5 separate regions of the Homo sapiens genome follow, and all the other regions are linked to region 1. The links are contacts of gene promoters, found by promoter capture Hi-C in blood cells and fetal thymus (Javierre and others, 2016). All regions are on one chromosome and are shown on one strand. Each heading gives the region's core, a stretch centred on a gene start or on the middle of the fragment in contact. The rest is flanking DNA. Distances are from core to core; before and after follow the strand shown.

Region 1 (4,961 bases), core at 1,232-3,731:
CATAGCTCACTGCAGCCTTGACCTCCCCTGCTCAAGTGATCCTCCCACTTCAGCCACTCAAGTAGCTGGGACTACAAGCATGCACTATGTTTTTTTTTTTTTTTTTTAAGATGGAGTCTCGCTCTGTCACCCAGGCTGGAGTGCCGTGGCGCAATCTCAGCTCACTGCAAGCTCTGCCTCCTGGGTTCATACCATTCTCCTGCCTCAGCCTCCCGAGTAGCTGGGACTACAGGTGCCCACCACCACGCCTGGCTAATATTTTGTATTTTTAGTAGAGACGGGGTTGCACCATGTTAGCCAGGATGGTCTTGATCTCCTGACCTTGCCCGCCTTGGCCTCTCAAAGTGCTGGGATTACAGGCCTGAGCCACTGTGCCAGATGCACTATTTTTTTAATTTTTATTTTCATAGAAATGGGGTTTCACCATGTTGCCCAGGCTGGTGTTGAACTCCTGAGCTCAAATGATTCACTGCTTTAGCCTCCCAAAGTGCTGGGATTACAGGCACGAGCCCCTGTGTTCTGACCTTCTTTATTTGTTTAATGATGTGGATAAGCTATTTCAGTAAAGTCTATTTCCTTTGCAGTGTGCAGCTTCTAATATCACACCTCAGGTGGTGCAGCCTTGGTCCTGTGTACAGTCACCCTAAGAATGCAGTGTTTTCCACAGGGCTGTCTTGACTTTCTCCTTCCCTGATCTCTCTGTTAAGCTCTGTGCCTCTGTTGGTCTCACACCCAACTATTAGCCTCCACTAACTGCAGGCTAATTGTCCTACTGTTTTCAAAAATGCTCTGGGGGCAGTAATTGCGCTATCTGCTTTTCCAGGCCAAGCTCCTCCCGTGTGTGCTATCTTCAGGGGTATCCATAAACATGCTTAAGAAACCAAAAATTACATTATTTGTCATGAGTTTTAAAAAGATAATTACACCTGGCCGGGCATGGTGGCTCACACCTGTAATCCCAGCACTTTGGGAGGCTGAGATGGGTGGATCACGAGGTCTGGAGATCGAGACCATCCTGGCTGACGTGGTGAAACCCCGTCTCTACTAAAAATACAAAAAAATTAGCCGGGCGTGGTGGGGGGCGCCTGTAGTCCCAGTTACTCCGGAGGCTGAGGCAGGAGAATGGCGTGAACCTGGGAGGCGGAGCTTGCAGTGAGCTGAGATCACACCACTGCACTCCAGCCTGGGTGACAGAGCGAGACTCCATCTCAAAAAAAAAAACAAAAAACAAACAAACAAACAACAACGACAAAAGATAATTACACCTAGCCAGAATAGTGAATCTTATAACCCTCTAAGAGAAACCTAAGTAAACTCTTACAAAGATACAATGACGTAAAAACACAAAAATCTGCCATGCATATACTCACTGGGGTAAAGCCTCTTCTATAACTTTTGTTTTCTGAAACAAACCAAACAAACAAACAAAAAACCAAAAACCTAAAACATAAATAATAGGAATGAAAAAGGGGGTCTGCCTTCTAGTTCCAAGCTCCTGCAGCACTCGGAGGTTAATAACTTTCCCTTCCAGTCCCCTTGGGTGGTTTCACTTCAGAGTGCCTCCAGTAAAACACCTCCCTGTGAATAAATGGCTTTCCCTAGCACCCAAGGGAGCAGATTTTCAGCAAATTTGTTGAGTGTGTGTGTCAAGAGGAAGACACCAGTGAGTCCCCCTGGTGTAGCAGTTGAGCAACTTCTTTGCCAGTTCAGCAAATTCACACTATGCCCTTTCCAACAAGAGCTGGGTCTCATCCCTATGGGTGGAAACGGGGTCTTTCTTGGGTGCTCTATTTAAGCCCTAAGGGTAGTGGTATTTTCTTATATGTATAGTTTCTATATTCTCCCTTTTTTTTTTTTTTTTTTTTTTTTTTGAGACAGAGTCTCGTTCTGTTGCCCAGGCTGGAGTGCAGTAGTGCGATCTCGGCTCACTGCAACCTCCAGCTCCCAGGTTCAAGCGATTCTCCAGCTTCAGCCTCCCGAGTAGCTGGGATTACAGGCATGTGCCACCATGCCCGGCTAATTTTTGTAGTTTTGGTAGAGAGGGGGTTTCACCCTGTTGGCCAGGCTGGTCTTGAACTCCTGGCCTCAAGTGATCCTCCCAGCTCAGCCTCCCAAAGTGCTGAGATTACAGGTGGGATTACCACCGTGCTCGGCCCAAATTAAAATTTCTAAAATTTTCAGGCTCAAAGCCTATTTCCTGAAATGGTTCCAATCATTTCTTTCTCTCTTAGAAGAAAGTAACGTGGATAAAAATTGTCCCCAAACCAGCCCTTGGCACCATTTTTAGAGGCGGAATATGAGGCTGGATAAAGCCCAGTTTTGCCTGCAATGGCATTCCTGTCTCCCGTCCCAGGACCCCAGAAGATTATGACTACCAGAAAACACGCCAGTCTTTGCCCTGATCTGGCCAGAGGCCCAGAGGGTACATAGGCGGTGACAGAGTGAGACCTTGTTTCAAAAAACAAAACAAAACTGGGGTTAGGGAAGCTAGCTAGGGAGCTGGGGTGAGACGTGCTGTGCTCACCCTAACCACACTCTGACAAGGAAAGCTGGCGAAGTCTCTTATCTTACAGTTGAAAGATCAGGCCCTGGAGGCCTATATAACCCATATGAGATCTCTTTCTAGGGTTCCCAGGAGCCGAGGTGCCCATCTGAGCCTGATCTTCCTGAAATCTTTGGGAAGCTCACCTTCCAAGACTCCCCATGATGAGCAGTATTGATTTTTCTGGGTCCCCACATTGCTTAGGGAAATAGGTTCCTCCACCTCCCATTGGCCTTTTTGTGCTTACCCTGAGAAGCTGTGTCAGGCCACTGTGTCAGGTGTCAGGCTTAGCCCAGAGAGAGTGAGGTGGAGGAGGCGGAGGGTGTAACCCAGCCAGGTCCTCTTCACATAAGCTATCAGACAAGCTCCTCAGGGCAGCAGCTCCTCAAGGCCCCAGGAACATGGCTGTCCCCTGGCTAGTGCTACTCTTGGCATTGCCCATCTTTTTCCTGGGGGTCTTTGTCTGGGCTGTCTTTGAGCACTTCCTCACCACGGATATCCCTGCTACCTTGCAGCATCCTGCCAAGTTGAGATTCCTGCATTGCATATTCCTCTACCTGGTCACTTTGGTGAGTTTACTCTCAGGCCACGTCGTAACCTGGGGGCTTCTTCTCTTGTTCTCAGTACCTTACCCTCTTTTCCCTCTTTCACTTCCCTTCTGTCTCTCTCTCTTCGGACTCCCTCAAGATAGACTTGTCTCTTCTGTATCTGCTATTCTGTTTGCCTCTCTCTTCCCTCCCTCCGTTCCTTCCCCCTTCCCATAGCCTGCCTGCCTTTCTTCCTCTCTCCCTCCCTTCCTTCCCTCCTTCTCTCCCTCCTTTCCTTTCTTTTTTCCTTCTTTCCTTCCCTCCTTCCCTCTCCTTCCTCCTTCCCTCATTCTCTCCCTTCCTCCCTATCTCCTTCATTCCCTCCCTCCCTTCCTTCCTTCCCTCCTTCTCCGCTCCTTTCCTTCCTTTTTCCTTCTTTCTTTCTCTCCCTCCCTCCTTCCTTCCTCCTTCCCTCCTTCCTTCATTCTCTCTCTTCCTATCTCCTTCCTTCCCTCCCTCCTTCCTTTCTTCTTTCCCTTCTTCCTTCCTCCCTATCTCCTTTCTTCCTTCCCTCCTCCCTCCCTCCCTCCCTCCCTCCCTTCCTTCCTTGTTTCCTTCCTACCTTCCTTCCTTCCCTCCTTTTGTTCCGTTCTTCCTTCCTCTCTCCTGCTCTCTCTAACTCCCTTCCTTTCTTCCTTTAGCATCAAACATTTACCGAGTGCCAATCACTGGGCTCTTTTCTGAGAATTCAAAAACAATTTCAGACCCAGTTCCTGCCTTCCCCGGGCTTGTGGCCTGACAGCCCCTGCCCCTCCTTCAGCCGCGCACACTTTCACCCTCAGTGCACTGACTTACCTATAGGTTGTTTCTATTTTATTTTACTTTTTTGAGACGGGGTCTTGCTCTGTTGCCCAGGCTGGAGTGCAGTGGTGCAATCATGGCTCAGTGCAGCCTCAACCTCCTGGGCTCAAGCGATCCTTTCCATCTCAGCCTCCCAAGTAGCTGGGACTACAGGTGCGCACCACCATGCCCGGCTAATTTTTGTACTTTTGGTAGAGACAGGGTTTCGCTATGTTGCCCAGGCTGGTCTAGAACTCCTGGGCTCAAGCAATCTGCCCGCCTTGGCCTCCCAAAGTGTAGGGATTGCAGGTGTGAGCCACTGCACCTAGCTTCACAGGTGTTTTTTTCCTTATTCATCTCTGTAAGCCCAGTCCCACTCACAGAGCCTGGTATCTGGTAGGTGCTTACTTTTGTTGGTATACATGAATTTACCCAGCATTTCTGAGTGGCCGTGCCAGCCAGGCTCTGAGCAGGGCTTGGGGATTGGGGGTTTGGGGTGGACCAGCATGCACCCAGAGTTGCAGTGGATTTGGAAACAGTGGTGTGACATCTTGTTTGTGGCAGGCAACCTGAGTTAACCCCAATGTCCCAACCCTAGGTGGAGACCTTATAGAAGCCAAACAGCTCCTACTGATTCCAGGGCAGCTGTGGAGGAGGATGAGGAGGCCACGCTTAACTGACAGCAGGGCTTAGGAATAAGGAACAGAGACAGCAGCCGGACTGCCTGAGTGTGTGTCCCAGCTCTGTCACTCACTCGCTGTGCGGTCCTGCACCATTTACTTAACCTCTCTGTGTCTCAGTTTCCTCATCTGGGAGGGTTAATATGTCTAGAGATGTTTAGTGAATTCGTAAAATACATCTCTGTGCTGCTGGAAGTGTTCCCCATGGGTTACAAAAACATTTTCTAAAAGATCACTTTTAGAGACACCGACAAGTTCAGTGTGCAGTGGCATCAATGCCACTGACGCAAGGAGACAGGACAAGGATGTAGAAAGTACTCGTGTCCTCTCATTTGGAGAATGCAATCAGCCTGGAATTAGGCAGTCTCAAGC
Region 2 (4,961 bases), core at 1,300-3,799, 250 kb before region 1:
TTCCTTCCACTATTATCCCATACCCTTAATATCCATTCCCGTATCTGTTCTCCAGATTTCTTTCTATATAAATTAGAGAACTCAAACAGTTCTTTTCGAGTGTAGTACACCTCCTCGTGAGTCACACTCTCAACCTCACATCTAGGGGCCTGCCGGGACTTTAGGTCTAGAAGCAAACAGGGGTGTTGGGGGTGACTCCTGAGGAGAATCAACATTACTTTGCCTGGCAGCTGCCTCAAGAGAGGTCATCACTGTTGCCTTAGGCAGCATAGGATTCATCTCCTCAGACAAAGGTGGAAAGCTGATGACAGCATGGGTTGAGGAGATGTTGCCACTACTGGGGATGGGGAAGCTCATCCTTCTGGCAAAAAAGGCTCATCAGAGTTTACAAACTCAGTTTCCCCGAGTTTCATCAGGGTCCTCCCACACATCCCCATTCCAAGTTGCAGGGTCCCATTCTTTTCCAATCATTGCCCTCACTTTAACAGCAGACATCTGGTGAGGCTGTGTGTGCATCTTTCGGCGTGCATCTTTCATTGCAGGTCAGCCACTTGCATGACAAGAGCTTGTGTCTGTTTTTCCACAATTTCAGCTCTTTCTCTGCAGGAGATAAGACTCTCACTTAGGGCAATCTTAGCAGATTTGAGGCTCAGTATCTGCTTCTGAAGCTGGGAGACAGAATCCCTGAGTTCATCATTTTCTTTCATTACTTTGTCCACTGAACTTAGGAGCAACCAACCAGCTTCATTATGTTACTTGGTTTTCTACATATGGTCAAAGGTATTATGTATAGAGTCACTAAAATCCTTGCCTCTCATGAGCGGTGAATCAGGAGTGTCAAATGCATTTATTTTGCATAATTCTCCAAACGGTTCACGCCAAGGACTATCAGCATTCTCCATACTATTAGAGGTAGAGTCCTTAGCAATTTTTTGGGGGGCTAATCATATTCAGCAGCCAACTCCAGAAACCCCAAAGCCAATGAAAGAACTCCATCCTTAATATTCTGTTCCTCTAGAACCACACCTGGTACCAAAATCTGTATTAGTCAGGGTTCTCTTAGAGGGATAGAACTAATAGGAGATATATATATATATATATATATATATATATATAGTTCTTTAAGATCAATAAAATTAATAAGCCTCTAACCAGTCTGAGCAGGAGAAAAAGAGAAGACATAGATTATTAATATCAGGAAAGAGAGAGATGCCAGACAAGCCAAATACTGACAAGTCTGGGGATGGGACTCCTGGGGGAGCTGCAAATTCCTTCTGGCTGCTGGAGTGTCTGCTAGGACTGCTTTGTTTGCAGTGTGACTGTAGGGCCGTTGGTTTTCAAGGCTACTGTGGAGCTGGGGTAGGGGTGAAGAGAATAGGACAAATTAAAATGCCACAGAGCTCGCTGTTCTCACTGAGTTTCAGCTTGTTTTCTTGAGTAAATGCTCCTTAGATTGTCGCAAGTTTTTTATTAACTTTCGGAGTTCTGAAAAAGTCGACCTTTACAATTTTTGGCAGAGTACTGTTAGTGTGCTATCAGAACAACTTCTATCTGTTTGTAACATCATACTTGGAACGCTTTTCCTTTATAAGCTTCATCAAAGTTTAAATATGTTCAGGAAACTAGTTCCTGGTAGACATTTCCAGAAGAAGAATCCAAAGCCCCAGACTGTGGTTCTTTTTCCCAAATGGACGAACTACATCCTTACTGGGAGTGTGTGCAATGTGTCTCCCATGACTGGGGCTCCTTCTCTCCCTTAACATGTCATGCGATTCCATCCAGATTGTCGAGGCCAGAACCTCTTTTCAGAAGAAATTTTTCTTTTATTATATATCACGAATAACAGAGAATTCAGGCTAATCGTATCCTATTTATTTGTGCACAGATAGAAAGTTAATATCTTGCAGCTATTTTTCCTTGTCCTCCTTTTTTCGACCTTACAGAGACAATTCAAGGAACCATTTGCTGTTCATTAGTTTCCTTAACTTTATTCTTTACTTTAAAAAGTTGTTTGTTTGTTTATTTGTTTGTTTATTTTGAGATGGAGTCTCACTCTGTCGCCCAGGCTGGAGTGCAGTGGTACGATCTCTGCTTACTGCAACCTCCGCCTCCCAGGTTCAAGTGATCCTCCAGCTTCAGCCTCCCAAATAGATGGGATTACAGGTGCCCGCCACCACGCCCAGCAATTTTCGTAGTTTTTAGTAGAGATGGGGTTTCGCCATGTTGGCCAGGCTGGTCTTGAACTCCTGACCTCAGGTGATCTGCACACCTTGGCCTCGCAGAGTGCTGGGATTACAGGCGTGAGCCACCACGCCTGGCCAAAAAGTTGTTTTTTCCTATAATACCTCTTTATGTGATGTATGCTGCAAATCATAGAAAATAATCAGGTTTGTACTTTACTGTGGTTACAGTGCTGCAAGAAGGAATTTTTAAAAATAGAAAATAGAGATCCTCTCCTTAGGCAGCATCCGATCTAATTAGGAGAATAAAACTAGGTAGAGTTAGTAATTCTCAGTTACGACGCCTTGTGTCAGATGTGTTTAGTGAAAGAACAAAGGAGAAGACAATATGGTCGAGCCCTTTATTGCCATTTCATATTTGGATGAGATAGGTAATGATTCATTCATTCAGTCCATTCTTACTGAGCATCAAGTGTGTGCCCGACACTGTACTAGGTTCTGGAGATATGGCTATGACTTCAAAAATGCAGGCTTTGCTCTTGAGCCAACAGCCTAGAGAGAAAGTCTGCCAATAAATATGCAGGCAGGCAAGCAAATGAATAATGACATTCTGTGATAACTGCTGTAAAGAATAGCTACTTTAGATAAAGTGCTACTTTAGAAAAAGTGGCTCAGGAAGATCTTCCTGAGGAAATGAGAGCTGAACTGAAACTTGGAGGAATAGAATGAGCAAACCATAGAGATGGTCACTAGAAACCATTTCAGGCAATTCAGAGACCCTGAGGAAGGAAGGACTTGCCCACATTTTAGAAACAATAAGGAGGCTCAGGTGAGGATGGTAGGGAACCTGAAAGAGTGGTGTGTGATGAAGCTGGAGAATTTGGTGCCAGTTCATGCAGGCCTTAGAGGCTGTGGTGAGAAGTCTGGTTTATCCTAAGAGAAAGGGAAACCACTGAATAGTGTAAAGGAAGGGTGTGTATGACTCGATTTATAGTTTACTGAAAGATCACTTTGGCTGCTATATAGAGAATACATTGTAGGAGGAAGGAATGGAAGTAGGAAAAAATACTCCAAGTCTCTTGCCCTTATCCCTGCCCTGAGAACAAACAGAAGAAAAGTCATTTCCAGTTGTACAGAAATGTCTATTTGGAAATCCCTGCAATACAATGGAGAGGTCAGAGGATTCGGTGCCAGAAATCTCTGCATTTGTATCCCACCTCTTCCACTTACAAGCTGTGCGAATGAGGGCAAGTAGTTTAACTTTTTTTTCTTTTTTTTTTTTTTGAGACGGAGTCTCGTTCTGTTGCCAACATAATTTAACTTCATTAAGCTTCTGTCTACTTGTTTGTAAAATGAGGAGGAATAATACCTAGCCTTTAGGGGTTTAGGAAGTGATATGATAGGGGGTGTGTGGAAAGTACCTGCAGATGGTCTCTTAGGGGTACCCAAAAAGATGGTCTGTCCTCTTTCCTCTTCCTGGTGGTGAACTTCGATGTGAGACAGAACAGGAAGATGGCTGCTTCCTGCAAGGAGCCTCTAGACATCCATGCATGTCTGAGTGTGGCAAGTGTCCTCTGTGATGGCACTGATACTGATCAGGGCTGTGTAAATAGAGTCAACCCTAATGCCGCTGACTTAATCGTTTCGTTCCCGAGAAGGGAGTTGACCTTAGTAGAGGAAACTGTTACAATTTGGTAGCCATTTGAGCTCCTGGTTCTCTAATTTAAATTGTCTTGAAGGAATTTGGAGCAAGAGAGAAGCATCGATAGCATAGTGTTTAGGAGTGCTGGCCTTGGGGTCAGACAGACCGAGATTCAAGTTCTAGTTTTGCCACTGACCAGCAGTGTGACCTGAAGCAAGGGCCTCTCTTCTCAGCTTCTTCCTCTGTGATATAAGGACAGAGCTCATGAAGTTGTCATAAGGATGGCAGCAAACCCTTAGTTTAACCACCAGCGTTACAGGTATGATGTGACTTGGGATCATGCATATGAAGTGGCTAGCATGGAGCTTCGCACATAGTATCACCTGTTTTATTTTTTTAATTAAATTTTTTGTTTCATTCAGCAGGTTGTGGACTTAAAAAATTACTTTTTTCAAATAGTTGATTTTTTTTTTTTTTTTGAGACGGAGTCTCTCTCTGTCACCCAGGCTGGAGTGCAGTGGCGCTATCTCGGCTCACTGCAACCTCTGCTTCCTGGGTTCAAGTGATTCTCCTGCCTCAGCCTCCTGAGTAGCTGGGATTACAGGGGCCCACGACCACGTCCAGCTAATTTTTGTATTTGTAGTAGAGACGGGGTTTCATCATGTTGGCCAGGCTGGTCTCAAACTCCTGACCTCGTGATCCGCCTGCCGCAACCTCCCAAAGTGCTGGGATTACAGGTGTGAGCCACTGCGCCTGGCCAGTAGTTGATTTTTTAACCAATGAATAAAAATTGTGTATAGTTGGCTGAGTGCGGTGGCTCACGCCTGTAATCCCAGCCCTTTGGGAGGCCAAGGTGGGCAGATCACCTGAGGTCAGGAGTTCAAGACCAACCTGACCAACATGGAGAAACCCCGTCTCTACTAAAAATATAAAATTAGCCGGGCATAGTGGTGCATGCCTGTAATCCCAGCTACTCAGGAGGCTGAGGCAGGAGAATCGCTTGAATCCAGGAGGCAGAGGTTGCAGTGAGCCAAGATTCCGCCACTGCACTTCAACCTGGGCAACAAGAGTGAAACTGTCTCAGAAAAACAAAAAAATATGTATATATTCATCGTGTACAACATGATGTTTGGAAATAT
Region 3 (4,961 bases), core at 1,407-3,906, 230 kb before region 1:
GTTCAGCCAGTAAAATAAGTCAAGGATGATCTTTTTGAAAAAGAAGTAAAAGGCATAGGAGCTGGAAAGGAAAATAAAAAGTTCGTTATTTGTAGAAAACACGATCGTTTACTAGAAAATCTAAAAGTATTTTCAGATTAGTTATTAGAATAAGTAAATTTAGTAAGGTCACTAGAGACAGTATAGAAAACAGTTATATTTCTACATGTCAGCAATAATAACAGAGAAAAGAAAAATTTGGAGGCTATTAAGAAAACAGGTCTGGGTGTGGTGGCTTACACCTGTAATCCCAGCACTTTGGGAGGCCTAGGTGGGAGGATCACTTGAGCCCAGGAGTTCAGGGCCAGCCTGGGCATCATAGGGAGACCCTGTCTCTACAAAAATGGAAGGAAGGAAGGAAGGAGGGAGGGATAGAGAGAAGGGGGAGGAGGAGAGAGAGATGAGAGGGAAGAGGAGGGAGGGAGGGAGGGAGAGAAAGAAAACATTAACTACTGTATCATTATCTATTATTGTGTAACAAATGACGCCAAATTGCAGTGGTTTAAAACAACCACCATCTTATTTGTTTACAATTCTGTGGGTTAATAATTTGGACTAGACCTAGCTGGGTGTTTCTTCTGCTGGTCTCACCAGTGGTTGTTCATATGGCTGCACTCACCTGGCAGTTAAACGCGATTAAATGGTATGAGATGACCTCAGTCTCATGTCCAGCGGATTGGTGCTGGCTGTCAGCAGAACCCCTTTCCACATGGTCTCCCATCTTCAAGGAAGCTACTCCCAGCTTCTTCACGTGGTGGAAGCATCAAAACAGGCAGTGCAGAAGCTCCAAGCTCTCTTGAGGCTCAGGCTCAAAGGTCACACATTATTATATCTCTCGCATCCTATTGGCTGAAGCAAATCACAAGGCTAGTGAAGATTCAGGTGGAGGGAACATAGACTTCACCACTTGACAGAAGATGCAAAGAATATGTGGTCATTTTAAATCTACCACAGTATCTAAGAATAAACCCAACCAAAGACGTATAAGACCTCTACACAGAAAACAATTAAACATTATTGTGAAAAATTAAAGACCCACATAGATGAAGGGACATACCATGTCGATAAGTTGGAAGATTCGGTAAAGTTGTCGTTGCTCCTCAAATTGATCTGTAGATTCAGTACAGTCCTGATGAAAATTCCAGCAGTTTTTTTGGAAGCAAATTGACAAGCTGATTCTAAAATTTCTCTGCAGTTGAAAAGCGCAAAGAGCAGCTAAGGTAACCCTGGAGAAAAAGTACAAAGTTGGGGAGAGCTTACACTATTCGATTTCAGAAATTATTACAAGACTACAGTAATTAAGACAGTGTGGCATTAGTAGAAAGCAGAGCAAAGTGAAACAGAAGAGAGAATCCAGAAATGGATGTATAATACCATCACGTGACTTTTGACAGCATTTATGCCATACTGCGGTAGTGGAACGGATGACCTTTTCAGTAAATATTACTTAGTTCAATATTTATCAGAAAAAAATGAATCTTGGCCACTCCCTCCTACCGTACATAAAAATAAATTCTAGGTGGAGCATAAATAAAATCTAGGTGTGAAGAGTAAAACAATAAAACTTGTATAAGTAAACGTGGGAATATCTTTATGACCTTGGTGTAGACAAAAATTTCTTAACCAGGACACAGAAAGCTCTTACCATATAAGAAAATATTGATAAGGCAGATTTCCTTAAAATTAAGACTGTCTGATCATTAAAAGACACCATTTAAAGAGTAGTAAGATAAGTCACAGAATGGAAGAAGATATTTGCAACACATCTGTTCAACAGAGGACTTGGTATACAGAATATATAAGAACTCCTACAAAGCAGTAAGAAATAAAAAACATGAACTCACTACAAAAATGAGCAAAATACTTCAATAAGCACTTCACAAAAAGATATCCAAATGGCTTATGCATTTAAAAGTTGCTTAATCTCACTTCTCAACTGAAAAGAGACTACGCTGAGGTACCATTACACACCCATCAGTTTATCTGTCAAAACTATGCTGAGATACCATTACACACTGTTCAGATTTTCTGGGTGTTTTTTTGTTTGTTTGTTTGTTTTTGTTTTTGGTCGTTGTTTGTTTTAAGTGACAGGGTCAGCCACGGTAATCCCAGCACTTTGGGAGGCTGAGATGGGTGGATCACTTGAGGCCAGGAGTTGAGCAACAAAGTGAGACCCTGTCTCTCCAAAATAAAAAAAAAAAAAATCAGCTGGGCGTGGTGGTATGTACCTGTAGGGGGAGGCTGAGGCAGGAGGATCACTTGAGCCCAGGAGGTCCAGGCTGCAGTGAGCCAAGATCCCGCCACTGTACTCCAGCCTGGGCAACAGAGACTTTGTTTTCTGTTTTTGAGAAAGAAAGAGTGAGGCAGGGTCTTACTCTGTCACCCAGGCTAAGTACAGTGGCATGATCTCAGCTTAGTGTGGCCTTGACCTTCAAAGTCCAAGTGATCCTCCTCCTCCAGCCTCCTGAATGGCTGAGACTACAGGCGCACGCCACCATGCCCAGTTAATTTTTAAACTTTTTGTAGAGACAAGGTCTTACTTCTTCACCCAGGCTGGTCTTGAACTTCTGGCCTCAAGCGATCCTCCCACCTCAGCTTCCCAAAGTGCTGGGATTACAGGCATGAGCCACCACTCCTAGCCAGAATATCTTTTTTTTTTTTTTTAAACGATCTATACCAAGTGTTGATGAGGGTGTAGAATAGCAAGGGATCTTGTAGACTGCTGAATGGAGCATAAACTGGTTTGACCACTTTGGAAAACTGTTTGGCAGAATATATTAAGATTGTGCATGTACATTCTTTATGACCCAGTTCCACTCCCAGGTATATGTCCAAGAAAAATGCATAAATGTGCCCCAAAAGACATAGCTAGGCAGGGAGCAGTGGTTCACAGCTGTAATCGCAGCACTTTGGGATGCCAAGGCAGGCGGATTGCTTGAGCCCAGGTGTTTGAGACCAGCCTGGGCAACATGGTGAAAACCCTTCTCTACAAAAAATACAAAAATTAGCTGGGCATGGTAGTTTGCACATGTAGCCTCACCTGCTAAGGAGGCTGAGGTGGGAGGATCGCGTGAGCCCAGGAGGTCAAGGCCGCAGTGAGCTGTGATTGTGCCACTGCATTCCAGCCAGGACAACAGAGTGAGAACCTGTTATCTAGTCTGCCATAGACATGTCTAATGTTGTTTATAGCAGCATTATTCATAATATCAAAAAGCCTGAAACAACCCAACTTTTGAACTTTTCATCAACAATGGTGGTTAAATACATTGTTTTATTCTTGCAATGGAGTATTTATATGGCAATGGACGTTAACAAACTACAGCTATATGCAACAATCTAGGAAACCCCCATATGTAATGTTGTCTATGAGAAGCCACCTACAACGAAGTGCATACTGATGATTCCATTTATATGCAGTTTAAAGCAGAAGAACTTACCTGTAGTGATAGATGTCATCACTGTGGTTGTCTTTGGGGAGGAAGGAGGAGGGAGTGGGAGCATGCTCATGGTGAGTGGGCTGCTTCCAAGATGGGGATAACAGTCTGCTTTCTGATCTGGTGGTGGTTACATTATTGTGTTCACTTTGGGAAAAATCATTTGGGTTTTGAACTATACATTTGATTAGTATACTTTTCTGTGTGTGTGGTTTACATCAGTCAAAAAGTAAAACATGACAAACAGATACAAAACAGACTAAAAGGAATTATGACACAAACTGATAGTGTTTATTTCTGTGTGATACATGTGACTTGGGTGATATATGTCTGTCTATATATGTATTTTTCCCTAGTATTTTACTTTTATAGTTATAGGGAAAATCCTTATTTATAAACATCAAAACCTGACCCTCATTCGAAAGTTAACATGACTTGTAGCTTTAATGGAATCTAGAATTATAGTATCACAGAAGGCCATCATATGACTTAAGTATGTCATTTCCTTTCTTCCCTAATTAGGCCCTAAAAAGCACCTTGGGGTTTCCTTTGATACGGTTTGAAGACGCTGTGATTAATCTAGATCCATTCACTCGGGTACATCCCTATGAGACCAAGGAGTTCATCATCAATGATATCCTCAAACATTTCCAGGAGGTGAGGCTTGGAGAAGTAATCATTGGCTGGAGCATAAGCAGAATGTTTGTTTTAGTTGTTTGGGAATTTTGGTTACTAAGGCATTACTATTGAGAACCCAGTTAAACATTTCAACTCTGTTGTGTTACGGGTCAGGTCACTTCCCAAGAAGCCCGTATGTGTCATGAAAATCCTGAGATAGTACATTTGACCTATGAGCTGTTAGTTTCATCCCTCAGAGCTAGTCTGAGGGGTTCCTGCTAGATTAATCATGACTCTTAATGGTTTAGTTGATGCTTTAATAATAACAAAATAATGTTTTTATTTACCAGGCATGGGCCTTCTTTCAGCAACTACACCCATGTTCTTAGAGTCTGTGGGATCCTGCATTTGGGTTGAACTTGAAATTTTTTAAATCACCTTGGACATTTTCCATTTTGTATTTATTATCCAGACTGCAAAGATCAAAAAGTAAAGGCAAGGCATAATCTTCAATGAATAGATAGGTCAAGATCGTATCAAATTTAATAGCTTTCAAAGTTAAAATATATTTTATTCTCACTTCCTTTTCTCCATTCCCCGTTTCCTTTTTTGACTATCCTAATTGGTGATATTTCCACCTAACTAAGGAAAGTGATACAGCAGATATCACTGGAACCTGGGATCAGGCAATTGGAAGTACAGAAAGAGTGGAGGGGCCAGTCATGGTGGCTCACACCTGTAATCCGAGTACTTGGTGGGAGGCCAAGGCAGGAGGATCACTTGAGCTCAGGAGTTCAAGACCAGCCTAGGCAACATATTGAGACCCCATCTCTACAAAATATAGAAAAAAAAGATTAGCTGGTTGTAGAG
Region 4 (4,961 bases), core at 1,548-4,047, 210 kb before region 1:
CTCCAAGTCTGTAAGGCCCAGTCCACTTGCCATGTTAAGAATGTGATCTCTCCCCACTGTGAGTTCCCATGGCCCCGTGTGCTTCCATTACAGCAGGCACCAGATTTTACCTTGAAGTGTAACCATTTGTGCACACATCTCTGATATCCGTCAACATTTCTCACATCACCAATTAGGTGCTGGGCGCTGTGAAAGAATGTTAGAAAGGAAGACTTAGAAAATGTTTTCTTCTTTTTGTGAGGATGTGGAACAGGTAAGGCAGAGAAGGAGTAAGTAATGATAATCCAGAGGAAATAAGTATTGCAGTGGGGTCTGTGCAAACTGCACAGTTCCATGAGAGAAGTGCTGTGGGGCCAGGGGTAAGAACACTTGATTGTGTTCCTCAAGGATGAGATTGGCTGGAGACAAAAGATGGAATGCAACGGTCTGTATTTATTTGCATCCCAGAGTAGACCCTGTGGAGGGGGGCCAGGATTTTATCTGACAACTTTTTTTTTTTTTTTGCCAGTCTCCCCTCTAGCCATAAATAGTTATTGTAAGGAAAATTAAAGTGATCCAGGTTGTATCCATGTGGGCTGTCTTTTATCTGGCATAGCATTTTTCACATGCTGTACATTCAATGAATGTGTTATTGTCTAGCTATTTTCTTTTTTTATGGAAACAAACAAACCTTTTTTTTTTTCTCTTTTTGAGATGGAGTTTCACTCTTGTCACCCAGGCTGGAGTGCAGTGGTGTGATTTCAGCCCACTGCAACCTCTGCCGCCTAGGTTCAAGTGATTCTCCTGCCTCAGCCTCCCAAGTAGCTGGGATTACAGGCACCCACCACCATGCCAGGCTAATTTTTACAGTTTTAGTAGAGATGGGGTTTCGCCATGTTGGCCAGCTTGTCTCAAACTCTTGACCTCAGCTGATCCACCCACCTCGGCCTCCCAAAGTGCTGGCATTACAGGCGTGAGCCACTGCACTTAGCCCATACAAACTTTTTAAAAGTTTATTTACAAGTTTCCCCCCAAACATATCTGTAAGCTGGTGAATAGCCAAAATCGTACTATAGCAATACAGACAGGAAAAGGACATTGACTTTTAGGATCCTATTTCTTCTCCTCCCTTCCCCATGCCTCAGGTCTAGCACAGCACTGGGGCACAGCAAGCGCTTAGCAGATACTGACCTGGCTCTCATGAAGCCAGGTGGGCACTATTGATTGGACCCAGGCTTCGCTTAAGGTAGCAGGAAGCTGGTTTAGAGGAAGGAGAAGAAAACCTAGTCCCTTTTAATCTAATGAATTAAAATAATATTTATGGGAAATATTTGCTTTATTCCAGGAAAATGTTTGAAGTAAACATTTCCTGCAAGCTGTTGAATTTATATAATAAAACATTGGTTTGGAAACCTTAATTGTTTTCACTGAAGTGAAAATTAAGCAGAACATGCTTCCCAAACAGCCCCTTGTCTCAGTTTTGTTGCCATTGTAATGTTCAAAGCAGGATATTGTGGCCATTGAGGTAATTTTCTCTTTATTGGTAACTTGGAAATGAGCAAGGATCATGCCAAAGTTAGTTATAAAAGAGGAGGCACTCATGGCTCCTTGTAGTTTTATAGCAATTCAACCTTTGTAGCGTCCTCCTGTTACTATTTGATCTTCACAAACTTATGCATTAAAGAGTCAAGTTTATCCCCATTTGACGGATAAAGAAATTGAGTCACAGTGAAGGTAATTAACTTCTGGAGGGTCAAACAGGGAGTTTGTGGAAGAGGACCAGGCTCTTTACAGCCCCAAGCTCTTTTCAAAGACCATACTGCTGCTCTAGAAAGCACTCTTTCCTCCTTCAGGAATTAAAGCACTTTCACGTCTGTGAGATAATTTAACCTTGCAACATCCCAGTGGGGCCAGCAGGTTAGGTATGATTATCATTTCCCTTCCAGTGATGGGAAATTAAGTTACACAGGTTAAATGGTTTTGCCAAGACCGTGCAGTCAGTGTTGGAACCAGGGGATGGTGCCCAGGCTTCACAAACACTGAGCCCACTCTTTTCCTACCACACTAAGCCTTCTCAGAGGAGAGCCAGAGGAGCTTCTGATGCCTTGAAGACAGCTGTGAAACATCTTGCTTCCAAGAGGGCCTTGCTTTCCTAGCACCCACGCCAGATTGTGTGAATGCTTGGTTCTATAGTCTCAGCGGGTCATGCAAATCTCCAGTCCTACGATCACTAAGAAACAAAGCAAAAGGGGGCAAAGCCAGATAGATTTTACCAGCCTGTTTGGATTTTGTGTCCAGTAGAATTAGCAAGTGAAAGTTGTAGGATTGCTACAGAAGAGTTGCTTAGAAATCAATTAACGTGACAAACTGAGGTGCCTCAACAAATAAATTATATGGAGAGATAAAAGTTGTTAGGACTAAACACAGGAAGAATTTGCCACTTGTTTCTCTGTAAAAGGTAAAAACATAACAGTGAACTGTGTCTAACTTATGTTAAAAAATTGAATTTGGTGAGAAGCCTAGTTTTAATAATATTTCATATGATAATTTAAACTCTCTAACTTTTGCCTATTTAACCCCATCTTGTATTCTTCCTAAGAGATGTGTCAACACTAAAACTTTTCTTAGTTATTCCAGCTGAATATGGCAAAGCTACAATAGCTTTTCCCAGATGCAGACTCTTAACACAATCGCTGATATTCAGTAGAAACTCTTTGGATAGCAGATTTGGGAAAGAACCTTAAGGCCAGCCTTTAGCCCTCTCAAATTATAGGTAGAGAAACTGAGACCCTGTAAGGTTCTCAAAGCTAATTAGTCACAGGGCTAGCCCTCAAACCCAGGCTTTCTGGCTACAGATCTAGTATGATTGTTGAGACTGGGCCGGCAGCTTGTGGGCACCTGCTTGGTAGGAGTGAGGGGGAGAAAAGTAGTAGGGTGTAAGCCTTGCCTACTGTATATCTTCTCAGCGTTCTTTATTTTTTATCCATTTGTGTGTCTGTCTCCCATACTATACTGAGTTCCATGAGTACAAGGGACTAAGTCATACTCGTCTTGGTATCTTTAACCCTAAGCACTTAGCCTGTGATCTAGGAAGCCCTCAAGGGTTTGTTGCACTGAACCAGTCTGTTCTGTGTCAAGGTCAACTTACCGGAAGGGGCTGCAGGTAGTACAGCTCCTTAAAGCACCTTCTATTACTAGTCCTTCAGCAGAATCTTACCCAGTGAGTAAACCCATGCAAAACTTTTGCATCTCTCCTGAAAGCAGAACAAGACCTGCCCCCATGAAAAGAAAGAAATAGGGAATCCCTTTATAATTAGATTTAGTGGGCAGTGGTGAGATGTAGTAGAGATGAAACTTTAATAGACACATAGTCTTTGGGTGATGCCAAAATTAATCTAACTTTGTGGGTTAAAATGAATTTTAAAATTTTTCTAAATGTTCATATGTTTTTCTCTGTATGTTGTTAGAATTGTCATCGGGTTCTTTCTAAAGGCTGTGTGAAAGAAAAGAGCAAGCCAGGTGCGGTGGCTTACACCTGTAATCCCAGCACTTTGGGAGGCTGAGGCGGGCGGATAACCTGAGGTCGGGAGTTCGAGATTAGCCTGACTAACTTGGAGAAACCCCATCTCTACTAAAAATACAAAATTAGATGGGCATGGTGGTGCATGCCTGTAATTCCAGCTACTTGGAAGGCTGAGGCAGGAGAGTCGCTTGAACCTGGGGAGGCGGAGGTTGCTGTGAGCCTAGATTGTGCCATTGCACTCCGGCCTGGGCAACAAGAGCAAAACTCCGTCTCAAAAAAAAAAAAAAAGAAAAGAGCGAAAACATCTTTAGTACTGGTTCTTGCCCTAGGACAGAAGTGGCTGTTTGCTGTACCTCTCAGTGGACACTGAAAATGTGGATGTGTCCAGTTGCCTGCTGTCCAGCAACCCTGGAAGAACTTGTGATGGCTTTGTCTTCGTTATGAGAACACTTTGATCTGAACCCCTTTCCTTTTCTGAATCCTTTCCCTTTTTTTTTTTTTTTTAAGACAGTCTCACTGGCTGAAGTGCAATGGCACCATCTTGTCTCACTGCAACCTCTGCTTCTTGGGTTCAGGCAATCCTCCCAACCCGGCCTCCTGAGTAGCTGGGACTACGGGAGCACACCACCACACCTGGCTAAATTTTTTTTTCTCGTAGAGATGGGGTTTCTCTATGTTGCTCAGGCTGGTCTCTAACTCCTGGGCTGAAGTGATCCTCCTGCCTCAGCCTCCCAAAGTGCTGGGATTACAGGCATGAGCCACTGTGCCTGGCGTCTGAGTCCTCCTTCTAAAGGGAACCCACTGCACAGCATCTGGCTGCTGCCAACAAAATGACTGCCCCACCAGTCCCACAGGTGATGAGAGTTTGCAATGGCCTTCACAGCTTAGTACCTTAGTACCTTTTCTCTCCTGGTAACTTAGAATGGAAGCCCCATGGGGGCCCACGCATATCTGCGAGGGTGCACAGGCATGTGGCAGAATGAGCCAGGGGCCACCCTCTTGTTCTGGAGGTGCTGAGAGCCGGCCTGGCTGGGGGCTGTAACTGTCAGGCTGACTCCCAGCCACACTGTCCTCCCTGGAGTAGGTGCTCGAAACCTTTGCTTTTTGCCTTTTCGCTTTAATCTGGAACGCTTGGGGAAAAAAAAAAAACAAAAAAACAAAAAAACAACAACAAAACAGTAGACCAAATGGTGACTGAGTCCCAACCCTTCTTCAGGCCAGATGAAATCATGGTCCCTGCTGGCGCCATTCCTCCATCTCAGAGCCCTCACTTGGGTTCAGACCCTCAGTCACACAGGGAGCCCCGCCACAGCTGAAGTGTTTTGTCAGAGCAAGATTGCAAAGAGTTAACACTTTTGCTTTTTCGGAAAGTTATCTGTGAAGAGTATTAGTTGTTTAATAAAGCGTGCCTGCCCTCCCGATGAACCCGCCAGTGACTCTGCAGCTGGGGTCATTCCAA
Region 5 (4,961 bases), core at 1,693-4,192, 190 kb before region 1:
GGCTTATGCCTGTAATCCTAGCACCTCGTGGGGCCGAGGTAGGCAGATCACATGAAGCCAGGAGTTCAAGACCAACCTGGCCAACACGGTGAGACCCTGTCTCTACTAAAAATACAAAAATTAGCCAGGCGTGGTGGCACACAACTGTAATCCCTGCTACGGGAGGCTGAGGCATGAGAACCGCTTGAACCCAGGAGGTGGAGGTTGCAGTGAGCTGTGATCGCACCACTGCACTCCAGCCTGGGTAACAGACTGAGACTCAGCCAGCAAAAAAAAAGAGCAATCCCTTACAGTAGAAAGTATGTGATTTTAGCAGATGGATAAACTGAGGTTCAGAGAAATTAAGCCTCTTCCACCAGCATGCGTGTTTGGTAACTGTCAGGGTAAGATTTGATTCCTTTGCTCCTGCTTGTTTGACTACATCGTGGCAACTCCCACAAAGTTCATGGCAGCCTTACTTAGAGGCACAATAGATAGTTGGGTTTTCCAAATTTATGAGTTCAGACATAGCTTATTGCAGACAATGCTGATTAGAATTAGAGCTGTGCTGGTAGCTGAGGTTTGCAGCTGTACAACCTTGTATAGTCTCTGACTTGTGGTGGTTTAACTTACAATTTTTTGACTTGACGATGACGTAAAAGCTATATGCATTCAGTAGAAACTGTACTTCAGATTTTGAGTTTTGATCTTCCTGGGCTGGTGACATGTGATCCGATTCTGTCGCAGTGCTGGGCACTAGGGCAGCCGCAGCTCCTAGTTAGCCACGTGATCATGAAGAGGGAACAAATACTCTACAGTGGGCCCTGCTGCCAGATGACTTCGCCCAGCTGTCAGCTAATGTAAGTGTTCCGGGCATGTTTAGATATGTTAGGTGTATGAAATTCATTTTTACTTAAAGCCTTTTCAACTTAAAAATGGGCTTACCCGGACGTAATCCCATCATAAGTCAAGGAGCATCTGTACTTGGAAGAATATAAAACTTCTCCATCACACTACGGAGTCCTGCCACTTCTCTCTTTTCCTGTTGTATTTGGTTACCATCTTCCCTGGTGACAAGGAAGATACTGCCACCAGCAATTACTCAGTGAGGCAAAGATATTAAAGAGGAAATTTCCATTAGGTAAATAACTGTGAAAGAAGAACCCAAGAGAAGGGAGAGAAATTCAAGCCCCAGCTCCTGTTACACTGGCCAAATGCCTTTGGCACCCCATGCTTGCTGAAGATCATAAAAGGGTCAGGTAAACTGATCAGACAGAACAGAGGAACACAGTGTGAATTTTTTCCCTTGCCCCATTCCAGTGTCTACTTGAATTTCAGTTTTAGAAAATCAACCCTTCGGAGCCAGGCCCCAAACCCAGGCTAATTTGCAGTGTCTCCATTTGTGTAGACAATGAGATTATTTTGGGAAGGAGGGTGTTGACAGAGTGTGTGTTAGCTATTCAGTAGAACTGGCATCTTGAAGTACTTCTGAGATTTTTACCCCCTTGCTGAAAATATTGCTTTATAGAAGTTAATGACTTTGGACTGTGGCCAGAATTCACAAGTATGGCATGTGTTGAAGTGAAAGGAAGGGGAAAATCATTGTCTTTGTGAGTGTAACACTAGATTTTCTGAAGGACATTTTGTTCCTTGGAACCTTTCATTTTAGCTAGAACAACATGCACTTGAAGCCTTAAGTATTTTGTGGACTTGAGATTGCTACAAAATGAGGTAGGCAGACTTAAGTCTCTGCAAATGCTCCTTCTGGTGTTAAGGTATTATAACCAAAGAGTTACAAATTGTCTGCAGATTACCTTCCAGTTGCTAGTCGCTTTCCCAGTTTAGAAGCCTAGCACACCCTGGTGCTGTTATGCCCTGCTGCAGATAGCTTCCGCTTTGCTGGGGGGATATGCCATGCCAGATGCTTTACGTGCACACTATCCCTGAATCCTCAAGACAGTCCTGCAGAATCTGATTATTCCCATTTTGCATATAAAGAAGTCAAAGTTTAGATAACATAATACTATTTTTATTGAATGTCTCATATGTATCAGGCTCTGTGCTATGTGCTTTACATGTATTACCTAATCCTTACAGCATCTTTGTAGGGAATATTTGTATCCCCATTTTGAAAAGGAGGAAAACAGAGGCCCGCAAAGGTTACTTGTCTGTGATCTCATAGCTGTTGGGTGTCACAGTCAAAATTCAAACTCAGGTGTGATTATCTTTCTATTATGCCACATCCATACTTCCCTACTGAGGTCTTGAAGGCAAGAGACAGAAACCACTTCTGATTTCTGATTCTCTGTCTCTAGCCTGCCGTACAAGTAGGGCTTCTGCACATGTTGGATTGCTTGGTTGACTGGGTGTGTAGTGGATTTGTACTTGCTCATATCGGGACTCATTTTTCCTTCGTCTGAATAATCTGGACCTCTATCTCCAGGCTTTACTTGTCACAAGACAGTGGGAGGATGGGATCATGAAGGATGGCCTGGGCCAGTCACTCCCTACATGATGGTGTAGCTCTTTTGGGTATCTCTGCCCTGTTTTGATGACCATCTTCAAAGTCAAGGACCTGGGTAAAATAGTGCTTCCAAGCTTCAGAGAAGAGCAAGGCCAGAGGGCACCCATGATGAGCACCACTGGAATTCCCTCCCTCCACAGCCCACTTGTTTTCTGCTGTCTTTGAGGGAGAAATAATGGCTGGGCAGGACTTACCTTCCCACTGAGGTGGGGAATGGGGTAGAATTAAGGATGCCTAACTAAATGCCTCCATAGTAAAAGGAGGCCACATGCTTTATGGTAGCCTGGATTCAATCCTCAGAGTGCAGTGAACTGGCCCAGGGCCCTGCCTTTACCACTGTATCCATCATTTGGCTGGCTTTGGTTTAGTTTCTGTAAAACGTCTTTCCCAGTAAAATCTGATTAACTACTCATCAATACAGGTTTGGTTGGATCATAGATTTCAACATCTACTCAAGTTTTCTGGGTTCTCAAAGCTGTATTTCTAGGGGTGAAGACTTTTGTAATGGTTGACTGTTAACAAGTGGCAAAGGACAAGTCCAGTTGGCTTGCATAAGCAATTTTTTATGGACAGAGAAACAGGAATTCAGACAGAAGTCCTACAGTAAGTTGAGATAGGTGTAGGTACCTTTCCATGGCAAAGGTCTTCATCTTACGGAAGAATCCAGCATTAGAGGGAAGAGTGATCTCTTAGGTCATCTCATCCCATCCTCCTTGGGTCAATACATTGTCTTTGTATAGAGAACACCCAGGACCCAGTTGGTGCTGGGGAGCTGAGGCTGCCACAGCAGACTTAGTTGGAAATTAAGCTTTTGGCATAGGCTCACTCATCAACTTTGGATATTAATTGATGGGAGTAGAAGAAGAGGGAGTGATATTGGGTATTCTGCCTAGATTATTCTCCCATATTCTCTTGGTGGGGGAGTATTATAGGATTTTTAACTTCCTCCTAGTTAGCTGCCAGCGATAGGTAAAGAGCACTTTACCCTATCTGTCTTCCAAGAAAGAGAATGTAAGCTCTTAGAAAGAATATAAGAGCTTGAGAGAAACAGGAAAGACCTGAATAAGACCCTGAATTGGCTGCGGTGCTCCTGGGTCTCTTCAGGTGGAGATGTGTCCCCTGGAGACACACAGGACATGGGCACGCGTCACTTAACTGTGGTTCTCACAGCGTCTGGGGCACCAGAGAGACACGTTTTTGTCTGGAACCTGAAGAACGCTGGCAGCCTACATAATTCTAAACATAGCAGGCACTCTTATTGATTCTTTCCAAAACAAAGGTCACATTTCCTTTCTGTGTAGTTTGTGTCCTGGGTTCCTGCTGACTGTTTTGTGTATACGATTGTTACCTTCTCAAAGAGACTGTCAGTTCTTGAGGGCAGGGTTCAAGGCTGCTGTTTGTTTGTGTTCTTCAGCAGTACCTAAATCTGTCCTGGGCTCAGAGGAAGTATTTAGTAAAGACATTCTACCTTGGGTTGTAGGTCACACAGTGCCAGAGCTGGAAAGGATTTTGGAAATCGTAGAGTCCAACACTCTAATTTTGTAAGTGGTACCACTCCAAAAACTTACTTGGGAGGCTGGTGTTTATCTGCTGGAAAGAGAGGATTTTATTATGTTAAACTATAGTGCAAATGACCATAATTCTAAACCTTTGACAGGCTTCCCTCAAACGCTGCAGGCATGTTCCTCCTTGGACTAGTAGCAGAGTAATAAGAACAGTAAGAATGCTAACTAGATACCAGGCCCCCGAGCCATTGTCATGAATGCTTCCAGCCACATGACAAAGTAGGTACTCTGGCTATTCTCCAGATGCAGAGGAGGCTCAGAGGTAGGTGACCTCGCTCAGGGTCATGTAGTTACCAGAATGGTCGAGGGAGGACTGAAGTTTGGTCAGATGCCCCAGCTTGTGGCCCTTCTCCTATACTGTGGTAACTCTCAGATGGGGTCTCTGACTGAAGCCACTCCTTAGTGATTCACGGTGCTAGCTTTGCAGCGTCGTGTGGTGTTTCCAGTTGTCCTAAAGGAAGTTATTAATTTTCATTAACTTTAATTCTCTCATTAGACAGGCAGTGATATGGAAGGCAAGGCAGAAAGCAAACAAATAATGATAGGGGTTACATCTCCAGAAAGGTCAGGAATCACTGCCCTAGGTTGTAAAATATTTGGACTGAGTAAAAGGCATGAGTCTTCCCATAGCTTCTTCCAGGAACTGTTGCTTTACATGGAATTGCTGCTGTGTTCACTAGTCCCTCTTCTGTGCCCAGAACTCACTGTCACATGTGTCAAGAATCCTCATGACTGAGGTTTCCAGGGCAGATCTGATCTGTGTAACACGCACCCTAACCCCCTTGCCAAAGGAGAATGAAATAGGCCCCTAGATGGCCACCCAGTTCCTGGGCCTTCCAGGCAGGCAGCTTGCCTTGAGGCTTTCCCCTGAGCCTTGTATCTAAGGAACATTC

What was found. The method cuts DNA at HindIII sites, captures the fragments that hold promoters and counts their contacts. A CHiCAGO score of 5 or more calls a contact.
Region 2: a contact is called between a fragment that was not itself captured here and the fragment with the promoter of AADACL4 in region 1, in 10 of 17 cell types (naive CD4 T cells, total CD8 T cells, M0 macrophages and 7 more). The highest score is 9.9, in naive CD4 T cells.
Region 3: a fragment that was not itself captured here is called in contact with the fragment with the promoter of AADACL4 in region 1 in 9 of 17 cell types (total CD8 T cells, naive CD8 T cells, M2 macrophages and 6 more); the score reaches 10.2 in total CD8 T cells.
Region 4: a fragment that was not itself captured here is called in contact with the fragment with the promoter of AADACL4 in region 1 in 3 of 17 cell types (M1 macrophages, M0 macrophages and naive CD4 T cells); the score reaches 7.8 in M1 macrophages.
Region 5: a fragment that was not itself captured here is called in contact with the fragment with the promoter of AADACL4 in region 1 in 2 of 17 cell types (M0 macrophages and M1 macrophages); the score reaches 6.1 in M0 macrophages.

The regions. Positions count from the first base shown.
Region 1 is chr1:12,641,604-12,646,564 of GRCh38, forward strand. AADACL4 (arylacetamide deacetylase like 4) reads left to right here and starts at 2,482. Exons shown (of 4, transcript NM_001013630.2): 1 at 2,482-3,111. The coding sequence starts at 2,944. The HindIII fragment of the contact is 15,531 bases long and covers 1-4,961 here.
Region 2 is chr1:12,394,914-12,399,874 of GRCh38, forward strand. The region is part of intron 60 of VPS13D (vacuolar protein sorting 13 homolog D); the gene reads left to right. Among named protein-coding and RNA genes, the nearest start is that of SNORA59A, 110 kb to the right of the region's middle. The HindIII fragment of the contact is 1,918 bases long and covers 1,591-3,508 here.
Region 3 is chr1:12,411,092-12,416,052 of GRCh38, forward strand. VPS13D (vacuolar protein sorting 13 homolog D) reads left to right here. Exons shown (of 70, transcript NM_015378.4): 64 at 3,996-4,130. Among named protein-coding and RNA genes, the nearest start is that of SNORA59A, 94 kb to the right of the region's middle. The HindIII fragment of the contact is 5,438 bases long and covers 1-4,961 here.
Region 4 is chr1:12,428,620-12,433,580 of GRCh38, forward strand. The region is part of intron 65 of VPS13D (vacuolar protein sorting 13 homolog D); the gene reads left to right. Among named protein-coding and RNA genes, the nearest start is that of SNORA59A, 76 kb to the right of the region's middle. RefSeq lists an enhancer at 4,868-4,961 and a cis regulatory region at 4,935-4,945. The HindIII fragment of the contact is 6,682 bases long and covers 1-4,961 here.
Region 5 is chr1:12,449,856-12,454,816 of GRCh38, forward strand. All of the region lies in intron 65 of VPS13D (vacuolar protein sorting 13 homolog D), which reads left to right. Among named protein-coding and RNA genes, the nearest start is that of SNORA59A, 55 kb to the right of the region's middle. The HindIII fragment of the contact is 734 bases long and covers 2,576-3,309 here.